2 separate regions of the Homo sapiens genome follow, and region 1 is linked to region 2. Evidence: promoter capture Hi-C in human tissues and cell types (Jung and others, 2019). All regions are on one chromosome and are shown on one strand. Each heading gives the region's core, a stretch centred on a gene start or on the middle of the fragment in contact. The rest is flanking DNA. Distances are from core to core; before and after follow the strand shown.

Region 1 (5,565 bases), core at 2,716-5,215, 670 kb before region 2:
TGGGCTTGGTGGCAGGCGCCTGTAGTCCCAGCTACTCAGGAGGCTGAGGCAGGAGACTGGCGTAAACCCAGGAGGTGGAACTTGCAGTGAGCCGAGATCGTGCCACTGCACTCCAGCCTGGGCGACAGAGCAAGACTCCGTCTCAAAAAAAAAAAAAAAAAAAAAAAAAAAAAAAAACTGGCAAATTATTAAAATAAATCATACTCATGGTTAGTTATGAGCATCCAGTCTTTCTAGTATCCTGTAACTAAAGAGTTGCTTTCTTACTGTTAAAATGGCATCGTAACATGGGCCCAAATATCATGTATACACCTTGTTATACAGAAAGTTTATTTTATATCAACACCCATTCAATTACTTGCCATATCCTCACTTCTCCCAAAATCGACATTATAAAAAATACGATAATTATTTTCTATTCAGTGCCCTCATACTTCTGATTCTGTACATTGCTGTACTTCTTTAAAACCTCTCAGAGTTTAAATTTGTTTGCAATACTATCCTTTAGTTTGGAAGCAATGTTTTGTTACTGTCAAGATAATCTTAAACTATTAAAAGCCTTTAAATCCAGCTGATTCTCAGAAATTCTTCCACCTATAAAACATGAGAATTATAACCAAATTAACAAATCAGATATCAGAATGCCAAAAATTAAGTCATTAAAAGAGAATCCAGTGAAAGAGCCAGTTGTGAAAGAACAGGAAGTGATGTACACTGCCATTTTGTAGATGAACTATTTAGAAACATAAGAAGTGCCATACTAATCTAGAATCAACTCAGACTAACAGCTCTCAGCATTTTCTTTCTGACAGTGGCATCAGAGGTCATCTGAAATAACCCTCAGGCAATTTTTCCTTAATAATGTATTTATCTAATTGATCATGAACATACTTTTCCACTTTTAGGCAACATTCCTACCAGCTATGAAAAAAGAGAGTTGTTTTTTTTTCAGTTGTCCTTAGTTATAGCATGCTGAAATATAGCAAGTAAATAGTTAACCTACACCCTATGTAAATCCTTTAAGTTTTGTAGCCTCTATTGATAAATCCTCTCTGCCTACAACTTCCCAAGGTAAAAGCAGTCACTCCTTACTGAGCAGTATGCTTCGATCAACACATGCTAGTATATATGAAATAATTATCAACAACAAGCCATAATACGGAGAATCAGACTTCCTGGCATAATTTGCCATAATGGAGAAAACTCTACATATCAACAACATGCAGCTTTGTCCCATGAAATAAATACTCAAATGAATAGTGTTATTTCAATGAATTGAGATGACCATTAAAAGGGAATAAAGAAAAGAGAATTCCATCTTCTGAGAAAAAAAAATAAAACTTATTTAACATACCATGTCTCCTACATCAAAATCATGATATAAAATGACAGAAACTAAGTTAGTGCCTAGCGCTACTACTAACACCTTTAAATCCCTATCTTAAAACAGGTTTCAAAATGCAACAAACACACCAAAAAAGCTCTATTGGACAACATTTAATGACAACATAAAATGTAGATGGCATTTGAAGTATTTAAAAATAAGTCACTAAGTAGAGCTGAAAACACTAAATACACCAAAGACAACTCATTATCTGTACACATTTTAGTCTTCTTCTTCACTTTGGGAAAAAATTAATTCTATTAATAGTCATATGTGGAATATTTTGAAATCACATCACCAGTATTTACTAAACACTTGAAAAAAATGTATCATCAGTACATGGAGACTTGAAAACTACTCTTTGGTCACAAAAAGCACTTGGCAGCACATTTCCAGAATGTTTAAATTTTTATTTCTACTCAACTAAGAACAAAACCAACAAGTACTACTGTAAACCAGATAAGATGATCTGCTTTCAGACAAACATGACAGGTAGCAAAAGAAGTGAAAAATGACTGACTACAGAAAATAGATCATAGAATAATTAGGCAGATTAATAAGAACAAAGAAACAGCTGCAGAAAGGTTTGTAACCTTACCATTTTAAAAAAAATCCAATTTCAATATTATACACAACAGTATCAACCCTAAAAATTCACAGCTTAGGGAGAAATGCCCTGAATCAGACAGGCTGTCTGTATGTAATAATTGTTAATAATTTTTTTTTTTGAAACGGAGTCTCGCTCTGTCGCCCAGGTTGGAGTGCAGTGGCACCATCTCGCCTCACTGCAACCTCCGCCTCCCGGGTTCAAGCGATTCTCCTCCCTCAGCCTCCCGAGTAGCTGGGACTACAGGCGCGTGCCACCATGCCCAGCTAATTTTTTGTATTTTTAGCAGAGACGGGGTTTCACCGTGTTAGCCAGGATGGTCTCGATCTCCTGACTTCGTGATCCGCCCGCCTTGGCCTCCCAAAGTGCTGGGATTACAGGCGTGAGCCACCGCGCCAGGCCAATAATTCTTCATGAACTACAAAAGTCATAGAAAAAGAAAAGGGAAATGAGGATGAGGAGGTACAAAATTATTTTATTTGAATTCTAACTAAAATCCAACCTGCTCACAAAAAATGTCAATCCAGACATCTCTCAAAAAGAGAGACATCAAAACTGTTCTAACAGGAGAGGTGTCCCTCTCGAGAGGCCATATCCCCCAACAATAACACCAGAACAGATACACTTCCCATGGACAGATCTCAGGGGAAGAGTATTAAAACGATACTGTCGTCGATTTAAAACCAAAGGAAAAAGAGTAACCTTTTCAAGGGAAGCGCCATTACTTCCCTCTCCTGCTCCCCCTCCCTTCTGTGTATACATGGGTCTGTGTATGAAGAAACTGCCTTGGACTTCTGCAGCATTGCAGTAGACTAGAGGATGGGGAAGGGGGAAGGGTACGGGGAGAGAAACGCTTCCATCGCCCCTACAGAAGAGGGGTATAGATTTCCTGTGCTAGGGGGTGGAATCCACCCAGCAAGCCACCCAGAGCAGTCTCCCTTCCCAAGAATACACAGACACTACAAAGGAGAAGAGGAGCAAAGGCACCAGAGGGGAAGGGGACCTCGCGCCTTTAAACCGGGGTGCACATCAACCCAGTCTCCCTGTGAGGGCCACACCTTCCTCGAAACATCCCCCTTCCACCACCCCTTCCGGTGACCCTCAGGAAAAAGGAATGGAATTGCTCTCGCCCCTTAAAACCGGAGGGCGCCCAGCTCACCAGCTTCTTCACCCCACCCACAGAATCACAGACCCTCCTTTTCTCCCTCCCCCACCCCACTCCCACATCCCTTCTTCCACACACAGGCCCGAGTGGGCCGAATTTCCCCGCCCCCCTCTATATCCCCCTTTCCCAAAGCAGAGGTGCCCTTACCCTTTCGCCGACAGGTCTGGGGCGGAGCAGGCAGGCGCAGCCCCCTGCAGCGCTCCGGTAGCCGCTACCCTGGAGGGTGAGGAGTGAGGAGGAGGAGGGGGCCCGGCGACAGATCGCCGCCCCCCACCCCCGAGCCCCAGCAAGCCGCCCAGCCCAAGCTCTGCAACAAGGGGCGGCGGCGGCGGGGGGTGGGGGGGGGGGCGAGGGGACGACCGGGGTCGAGGAGGCGCCCTCAGCGCTTGGGCTCAGTTAAGATGGCGCGGGGAAGTGCCGGGAGCCGTCTCCGTCGCCGCCTCGGGGGAACCGGCCCGGGCCTCGGCCGCCTCTAGTCCTCACACAGCCGAGGCCCTCTCGGTCCCCCGCCGCGGCCCCTCGGCGGGCGGGCCCACGCGCAGCCCTCCGCCACCAACACCACCCCTGGTAAGGAGGCGCTCACAAAGGGAAGAGAGGCCGCGGGCCGGCCGGCGGACGGCGGGGCGGGGTCCCCCGGGGCCGGGAGGCCTCAGATGTTCGCGAGTGCCTAGTGCTTTCGGCCCGCGAAGGGCGCAGGGCGAGCGGGACCCCTCCTCTCTCCTCAGGCAGGCGGCGGCACCGACTCAGTCTCTTTGCCACCCTCCCTCTCTCTCCCCGAGCCCTGAAGCCACAGAGCCCGGCCGCTGCCCAGCTTCCCCCCCTTTACCCGACACCACTCCCCTCCTCCAGACCGTCATCCCCCGTCTCCGATCTCGCGAGATTTTCCGCCTGACAGGCCGGACCCTGCGCGAGACACGACTACATGCGCGCGCGCGCGCCCTCACAGGAGCGCGCAAGGCTTGCTACGGGCAGAGTTGTCCCGGTGGCCCGGAGTTCCAGCCTCTGTCCAGCATGGCCTCACTGAGTTCGCGGAGCTTCTAATGCCACGCGGGCGTCAGGTGCATTCATTTCACCCCGGAGATCTGAAGAAGAAGAGTTTATCTGCATTCCCCTTCCTTCCTGCTTCCCACCTCCAAAGCCCGCCACTGATCCTGCGAATAAGTTTGCCCTGAAGTGTGGAATATCCCATTCCTGCACAACTCGGTTCTACACCCCCTCCCCCGTGGGATTCAGAGGTACACTGGGCAGCGCAATCAGTATGCAGTTGAGTTTTTGAGATTCTAATAGTTGATACTAATTCTTGGAACGACAGTAAGACTTGGAAATACAGATCTAAGCCACCCTATATATTGGTGATGTAGAAAAGAGATAACTTCTTGAAAAGTGTCTGTGGGTTTAGTAGGTTGAGTAATGAGAAGTTTTGGAACAAGAGCAGCAAACAAACTAAAGACTCCTATGCAAAGAAGAAGTAGAGTTTTTATTCTTTTATCTCAAAACTTTTTTTTTTTTTTTTAGGGAAAACTCCCTCAGTACTTATTCAAGAACCTAAAAGTGTAAGGCCGGGCGCGGTGGCTCACGCCTGTAATCCCAGCACTTTGGGAGGCCGAGGCGGGCGGATCACGAGGTCAGGAGATCGAGAGCATCCTGGCTAACACGGTGAAACCCCGTCTCTATTAAAAGATAGAAAAAAATTAGCCGGGCGTGGTGGTGGGCGCCTGTAGTCCCAGCTAGCTACTCGGGAGGCTGAGGCAGGAGAATGGCGTGAACCCGGGAGGCGGAGGTTGCAGTGAGCCGAGATTGCGCCACTGCACTCCAGCCTGGGCGACAGAATGAGACTCGTCTCAAAAAAAAAAAAAAAAAAGAGAGAACCTAAAAGTGTACACAAAGTGTAGTCATAAAAAATCTTGGTTCTTTAACCAACAAAACGACTGAAATAAATAAACCTGTTATATGAGTTTCATGAATAAAAATTAACTCTGGGCCGGGCCCGGTGGCTCACGCCTGTAATTATAGCACTTTGGGAGGCTGAGACGGGCGGATCACCTGAGGTCAGGAGTTCGAGACCAGGCTGGCCATAGTAGATCTGTGCTCCAAGGAAGGAGCATGTTGATCAGACCTAAGCAATCCGTGTATACAGTGTATGTATGACCTTCCTCTAGTCTGGCTCAGGGATGGGCACATGATCCAATTAGAGCCAATGGGTACAATAAGATTTTCTCTGGCTTTTTGGGAAAGAAACTTTCTTATTTTCTCCCAAAAATGTAATATATATATTGAACTCCCAAAATGGAATCCAGTGGTGTGATCCTGGCTCACTGCAACCTCTGCCTCCCAGGATCAAATGATTCTGCTACCTCAGTCTCCCAAGTAACCGGAACTACAGGCATATGCCACCGTGCTGGCTAAGTT
Region 2 (6,312 bases), core at 1,044-3,543:
TCCGAAACGCAGGGAGCAGCCCCGGAGCAGAGCCCTCAGGGCTTAGCCCAGCAGCCGTGTTCCCAATTCGTTCGCTCTGCGGCGCGGCAATCCCCGGTAAACCAGCTGCGGCCCCATCACCAACACACACCTTCCTTCTTCGCTTTCGGCGCCATCTTGTGAAAAGGGTCTCCAATGCTCGTTCCCACGGGCTTATAGCGCCAAAGAGCACTAAAGACTCGCGATGCTTTGTACTTAGAGCTGATTGGGTAATTTGCAGAGCGGCGCCCTCTGGGAACGGTAGTTAGGTTTAATTTCTTTTTCGTGCGTGAACAAACATGCGCCACTCCTCCCCTCAAAGGCACTAAAGCTTCATGGGGGTTGTAGTTTTTTGTTTTTTGTTTTTTGTTTTTTTTTTGAGCGCTCTGTCGCCCAGGCTGGAGTGCAGTGGCGCGATCTCGGCTCACTGTAAGCTCCGCCTCCCGGGTTTACGCCATTCTCCTGCCTCAGCCACCAGAGTAGCTGGGACTACAGGCGCGTGCCACCATGGGGATTGTAGTTTTTTGAAGACACGCGTTTATTTGCTCAGGCCAGCGGACGGCGTAGCCGGCTGGCGCTCGGGTCTGGTCCCGGGAGCTTCCTATCTTGAGCAACTGCCAGTCTCAGGGAAGAGGATTGCCATGCCAGGAGGCAGGAACGCTGCCAAGAGGAAAGAACACATTTGGATTGACTCGGGAGTTAGATACAGCTAAGTTCTAGAGTGCTGGAGCAGGATTTGCTCGGTCGAACTGAGGTCCAGAGAGGAATGTGGTTTATCAATAACACAGTGATTTGGTGGCAGAAAAAAATCAAGTCAGGGCCGGGCGCGGTGACTCACGCCTGTAATCCCAGCACTTTGTGAGGCCGAGGTGGACGAATTGCTTCGAGCCCAGGAGTTCGAGACCACCCTGGGCAACACGGCGAAACCCTGTCTCTACAAAAGAATACAAAAATTAGCCGGGCGTGGTGGTGCGTGCCTGTAGTCCCAGTTCCTTGGGAGGCTGAGGTGGGAGGATCGCTTCAGCCCTGGAGGTCGAGGCTGCAATGAGCCATTCCAGCCTGGGTGGCAGAGTGAGACCCTGTCTCAAAATAAATAAATAAATAAATAAATAAATAATCGAGTCACGAGGGGGAAGTGTCAGAGGAAGTACAAGGCGGCCACACCTGCCCCTCTTTACCTGCGACACTGATACTGTCAAGTTTTACTGCGTTTCCTGATAATGCATTTGAAGTTCTATGAAAATTCCACACATTTCTCCAAGATTCGCTAGTTTTTCCGGTTAGTAACTTCACTCACAATCCCCTGCCCTAAACTAGTCTTCCCTTCCGTGTCCTGGTCATCTTTACATCCTCAAATTCAGCTCCAGACACAGAGAAAGGTTTCTTAACACTCAGGTTCGCTTCTCCTAAGGTGTGTGCCTAACCCATCCCCACTTGATCCTTTCTTCTTCCCTCTCCCTTCATAAAACCAGACATGTCCCCTTTGACGGTGAAATTGATTGTGCACTGCCCCCTCTTCTATCCTGCAGGACTTTGCACAAAGGAGTTGTCCCTGGGGGATAGATTCCAATGGGGCCAGAACAATGAACACCCATACCAGAGGGGAGTCCCCGCCTCCCAGAGCGGAGACCACCCCGAAGAGCAGAGTTTCCGGGTCCACTTAGCCCTTCTTTAACCTCCCTCGAGGGAACTTGATCTTCAGCCCTCCCACCTCACAATCTACACAGCAGCCTTGAAGGAAAAGACGCCAGACTTCAGACGTCTCTCTCCTCGGTGGGCACCTCATTCTAACCCTGGCACCCCCTTCGCACGCTTCCCCTCCACCATCCTCACCCCCGACCTCCCAGGGCAGAAGGGCGAGAGGGGGCAGACTCTATGAGTCACCTCCCAGGCCTGGAGTTGAGGAGGGAAGCGCCGCCTCTCCTTGGGCCCCTTCTCTCCCCCTTTCCCCTCCCTGCTGGTTCCTGGCATCGCCAGATGCTGCGCAGCAGTCTCCGATTCCCCATCACCAATTCGGCTGGGTAAGGGTCCCCATGAAGGCGCAGCCGGGTATAGAGGTGCAGGGGAGAGCAGCCTGGGGAGTCCCTATCTGGATAGGCTCCAGCCTGGGTCGGGGCGGTCCTGGTGCCCGGTGAAGCGTCAAAAGAGGGAGCCTGAGCGGGGCAACGCAGAAGGGTGGAGAGGAGGGGGTGGCGAGGGCGGGCAGCGAGGCCTGGAGCCGCCAGGAGAGGGGCGGGGGGCGGCCCTTCTCCAGGAATTTCCGGGGATCGTGTTACAGCGTTGGCGGAGCCCGAGCGGAGTGGGACTCGAGGCCCTGTAGCCGGACTGGGCCCCTCGCCCCCTCCTCCAGCGGCCTGCGGGCCTTGGCAGCGCCGCCCCTGCCCACACTGACCCCGTGTGGCGGGGCCGCTCCGCGCCCCCGGGCCGCTCTGTAATGGTAGGGCAGCCTCAGCCCCGAGATGACGTCGGGTCTCCGCGGCCCCGGGTTATTGTAGGAACCATCCGGCCCCGCGTAATCGTAGGAACTATCCGGCCCCGCGTAATCGTAGGGTCTGCGCGGGCCCGGCCCCCACCAGACGGGACTCCCCGCCCCCAATTGGCGGCCGAAGAGTCTCCTCGCCCCAGAGTCATCTTCGGGACGCCCAGGGCCCGGGTGATTTTGGGCTCGCCGCGGCCCCGGGTGATTGTTTCATCTCCGTGGCCCGCGGTGGTCGTAGCGTCTCCGAGACCGCGGACTCCCGTAGGGTCCCCGTGGCCCCGAGTTGTAGTCGGGACACCCCGGCCGCGGGTGATCGTCGGGTCTCCACGCGCCCGGGTCGCTGACGCGGATCCGGCCTCGGCGCCTTCTCAGGGCGCCCTGCAAGGCCGCAGGCAGGATGAACATTCTGGCACCCGTGCGGAGGGATCGCGTCCTGGCGGAGCTGCCCCAGGTAGGCGCCGGGGCCACGTCGGGCTTCAGTCTACAGCCCGGGGTGTGGGCGAGGAGGAGGCGGCACCAGACCAGTTAGAGGACTGGGCCCAGCCCTGCCACCCAGCTAGGCCTGGTGCTTCTGGGTGGTCCCTGCACTCCACCCCTACCCGGGCCGCTTGGCTGCGGGACAAGGGCCAGGAGTAGGAAGCTCCATTCTCTTCCATCCTTCCCACTAAGTGCCTGAGGAAGGAGGCCGCTTTGCACGGGCACAAAGACTTCCACCCCCGCGTCACCTGCGCCTGCCAGGAGCACCGGACAGGCACCGTGGGGTGAGTTAGGGACACCCACAACAAAGAGAGGAGGTCCCAGGAAACTCTGTAGTCATAGCGAGGGTAAACAACCACCCCCTTGGGGCTTCATTTCAGCCCCTACCAGCTATATGGTTATTTCCCCCTCTTTAAGCCCCTGTATCCCCTCCTTTTCTCCCAACAAGGTTGTTGTGAGTTCTATGAGATGGGGTTGGGTAGAAGGGTGGCAGCTGGATTTCTGAGTAGAGACTAAGGTGTCTGAAATGGGAAGGTGGTCACCTGCTCAGATCCCCACATAGCATCCATGGAGCCCCAGGGCAGGGGTCTGGCTGTGCTTACAGGGATGAGTCTTATTGTGGGTTTTAAAGGTAATACTGATAACAGTTGGCACCATTAATTAAGCATTTGCTGTGTGCCAGGCAGTGTTGGGTACTATCATCTTTATTGAATGGAAAAGTCCATCACTTAAGATATATCCTGATTTCAGACATTAAAATGCGGGGGGGAGGGTGTCTTAGAATATAGGACATTTATCTCATTTTAACCTTCACAACGACCCAGTAAAATATATACTAACTTTACTTAAATGTTTAAACTGAGGCTTAGAGAGGCTAAATAACGTGTCCAAAGTCACACAGCTAATCAGTGTGAGAGCTGGGATTCAAATTCATGTCTCTCTGCTTCTGGAGCACAAAACACTCCTCCTCCCCAGCACACCTGTCCACGCAGCTGCCTGGGATGCCTGGTGTCTATAATACCCTCAGCCTGGGTGCAGCTACCTTTCTGGACCTAGTCGGGAGCATTGGAACTCCCTAGGGTGAAAGAGCTCGTGCCCACTCCCCTTGCCCACTCTTGTGTCCAGCAGATTTAAGATCTCCAAGGTCATTGTGGTGGGGGACCTGTCGGTGGGGAAGACTTGCCTCATTAATAGGTAAGGGGGTGCTGGAGCTGAGCTGGGCAGGGTGGGGCCAAGCCTAGCCAGGTGGGCTGGCTCCAGATCACAGCATCTGGTACCCTCTCAGGTTCTGCAAAGACACCTTTGATAAGAATTACAAGGCCACCATTGGAGTGGACTTCGAGATGGAACGATTTGAGGTGCTGGGCATTCCCTTCAGTTTGCAGCTGTGAGTGCTTCCACACCCCTTCCAGCTATCCCTTCTCCCCAGCACCCACACCCCCCAAGATACATACCTGTGCTTCACTCTTCCTTCCTTCCAGTTGGGATACCGCTGGGCAGGAGAGGTTCAAATGCATTGCATCAACCTACTATAGAGGAGCTCAAGGTAAGGGGCTGGGTGAAGTGGGGTAGGTGGGTCTCAGAGTGCACATGGCTTCTCATATGGAGCTGGAAGGATTGGGGAAATGAGCAGTAGTGTCTTCCCTGTCAACCTGGGGCTGTTTCTGCCACTCTTCCAGCCATCATCATTGTCTTCAACCTGAATGATGTGGCATCTCTGGAACATACCAAGTAAGTGAGCATCCTGCAATATAATGGGAGGCTCCGGGAAGAGAGGGTTCAGAACAGAGGGGTGGTCAGGAAGAAGAAGAATGCATGTAGGACCAGAGAGGGGGTAATTGGGCCTATGAATGTCAGTGGGAGGGGCCCTGCAGACTCACTCATCCCTTACTTTCCACCTCCCATGGCAGGCAGTGGCTGGCCGATGCCCTGAAGGAGAATGACCCTTCCAGTGTGCTTCTCTTCCTTGTAGGTTCCAAGAAGGATCTGAGTGTGAGTGTGCCAGTGGGGGGACTTCCCAGCTTGGTGAGGGAATGCCCCCCTCTGACTCTGGCCTTCCCTCAGACCCCTGCTCAGTATGCGCTGATGGAGAAAGACGCCCTCCAGGTGGCCCAGGAGATGAAGGCTGAGTACTGGGCAGTCTCATCTCTCACTGGTGAGTTGGAGGCTTTAGGGCTCTGCTGTGACACTCTTGCCTGGCTCTCCTCTCACTGCTACACCTCCAGCTGTGCCCTGTGTCCCCAGACCCAGCACTGCCCCTGAGCACCTATCTGCTCTCTGTGTCAGGTGAGAATGTCCGAGAATTCTTCTTCCGTGTGGCAGCACTGACCTTTGAGGCCAATGTGCTGGCTGAGCTGGAGAAATCGGGGGCTCGACGCATTGGGGATGTTGTCCGTGAGTGCTTGCCTGGTTGAGGGTGGCAGAGGGCACAGTGAGCCTCCAATCCCTGCTTCACATATTTTCCACCCTTCTTTAGGCATCAACAGTGATGACAGCAACCTCTACCTAACTGCCAGCAAGAAGAAGCCCACATGTTGCCCATGAGGGCTGAGGAGACTGTTCAGAGACTGCCCAGCCCTAGGGCACTGTGCCACCCTCATTCCTCCAGAGCTTGACCCCTGGACATTTGCACTGACTTTATCCAGACCAAAGAGCTGCCTCTTGGTGGCAGTATTCCCACAGAGGGGTAGCTGGGATCATGCTAGTCACTTCCTGCCCCCAGGCACCGTGCCAAAGACTGGATGCCCCCTACTCCTCAGGGGACTGTCCAGGGCGCCCAGTGGTAGTGAGGGAGAGTGTCTCTGTTCTTTTGCTCAGCCTGCTGGGCCCTTTGTGTTTGAGGATGCTTAATGATTCCAGCCTCTCACTGTGCCTTATGCATTAAAATTTCTTTGTTACGAGCACTTTGGGGCTGGAGTTCTTTGTTGGGGATGATGGATGTGGAATGGGCATGACTGTGTGGCCATTTTGGCACTAGAGTCCCCTGGGGATGCTGTGCTGGCCATCCCTGGCCCCTGGGCAGGTTCAGGTAGGCTGGGAGCTGAAACATCAGTTTGGGGGCTGCACTGGGCCCTCACTGGGTGAAGTCTGAATGGCTGGCTTTGAGAGCCCTTTCCCCTGATCCTTTCCCCACACGTGTCCTCCTACTTGGTGCTTATACCCAAATTTTCACCACTGGAGAATCTTTTTCTTTTTTTCACCCTTTTCTTGCCTTCCCTTTAAGAAGTACTTTTCCAGGCAGGGTGCGGTGGCTCGTGCCTGTAATCTCAGCACTTTGGGAGGCCAAGGCAGGCAGATCACTTGGATTCAGGAGTTCGAGACCAGCCTGGCCAACATGG

Evidence for each region. The method cuts DNA at HindIII sites, captures the fragments that hold promoters and counts their contacts. A contact is called where the count stands out against the background at its distance.
Region 1: a contact is called between the fragment with the promoter of TAOK1 here and the fragment with the promoter of RAB34 in region 2, in 1 of the 25 tissues and cell types used here (hippocampus).

Annotation. Positions count from the first base shown.
Region 1 is chr17:29,388,763-29,394,327 of GRCh38, reverse strand. TAOK1 (TAO kinase 1) reads right to left here and starts at 3,965. Exons shown (of 20, transcript NM_020791.4): 1 at 3,304-3,965. MIR4523 (microRNA 4523) reads right to left here and starts at 3,666; the gene lies at 3,598-3,666. RefSeq lists enhancers at 2,560-2,799, 3,960-4,049, 4,170-4,409 and a silencer at 3,450-3,919. The HindIII fragment of the contact is 18,861 bases long and covers 1-5,565 here.
Region 2 is chr17:28,713,849-28,720,160 of GRCh38, reverse strand. It overlaps RAB34 (RAB34, member RAS oncogene family), which reads left to right and starts at 2,293. Exons shown (of 10, transcript NM_031934.6): 1 at 2,293-2,948; 2 at 3,167-3,258; 3 at 4,103-4,168; 4 at 4,260-4,361; 5 at 4,456-4,520; 6 at 4,654-4,705; 7 at 4,885-4,966; 8 at 5,039-5,129; 9 at 5,261-5,368; 10 at 5,451-5,877. The coding sequence starts at 2,895. The coding sequence ends at 5,518. It overlaps RPL23A (ribosomal protein L23a), which reads right to left and starts at 176. Exons shown (of 5, transcript NM_000984.6): 1 at 131-176. The coding sequence starts at 155. RefSeq lists enhancers at 1-181, 612-661, 318-919, 920-1,520 and a silencer at 2,201-2,460. The HindIII fragment of the contact is 4,543 bases long and covers 1-4,000 here.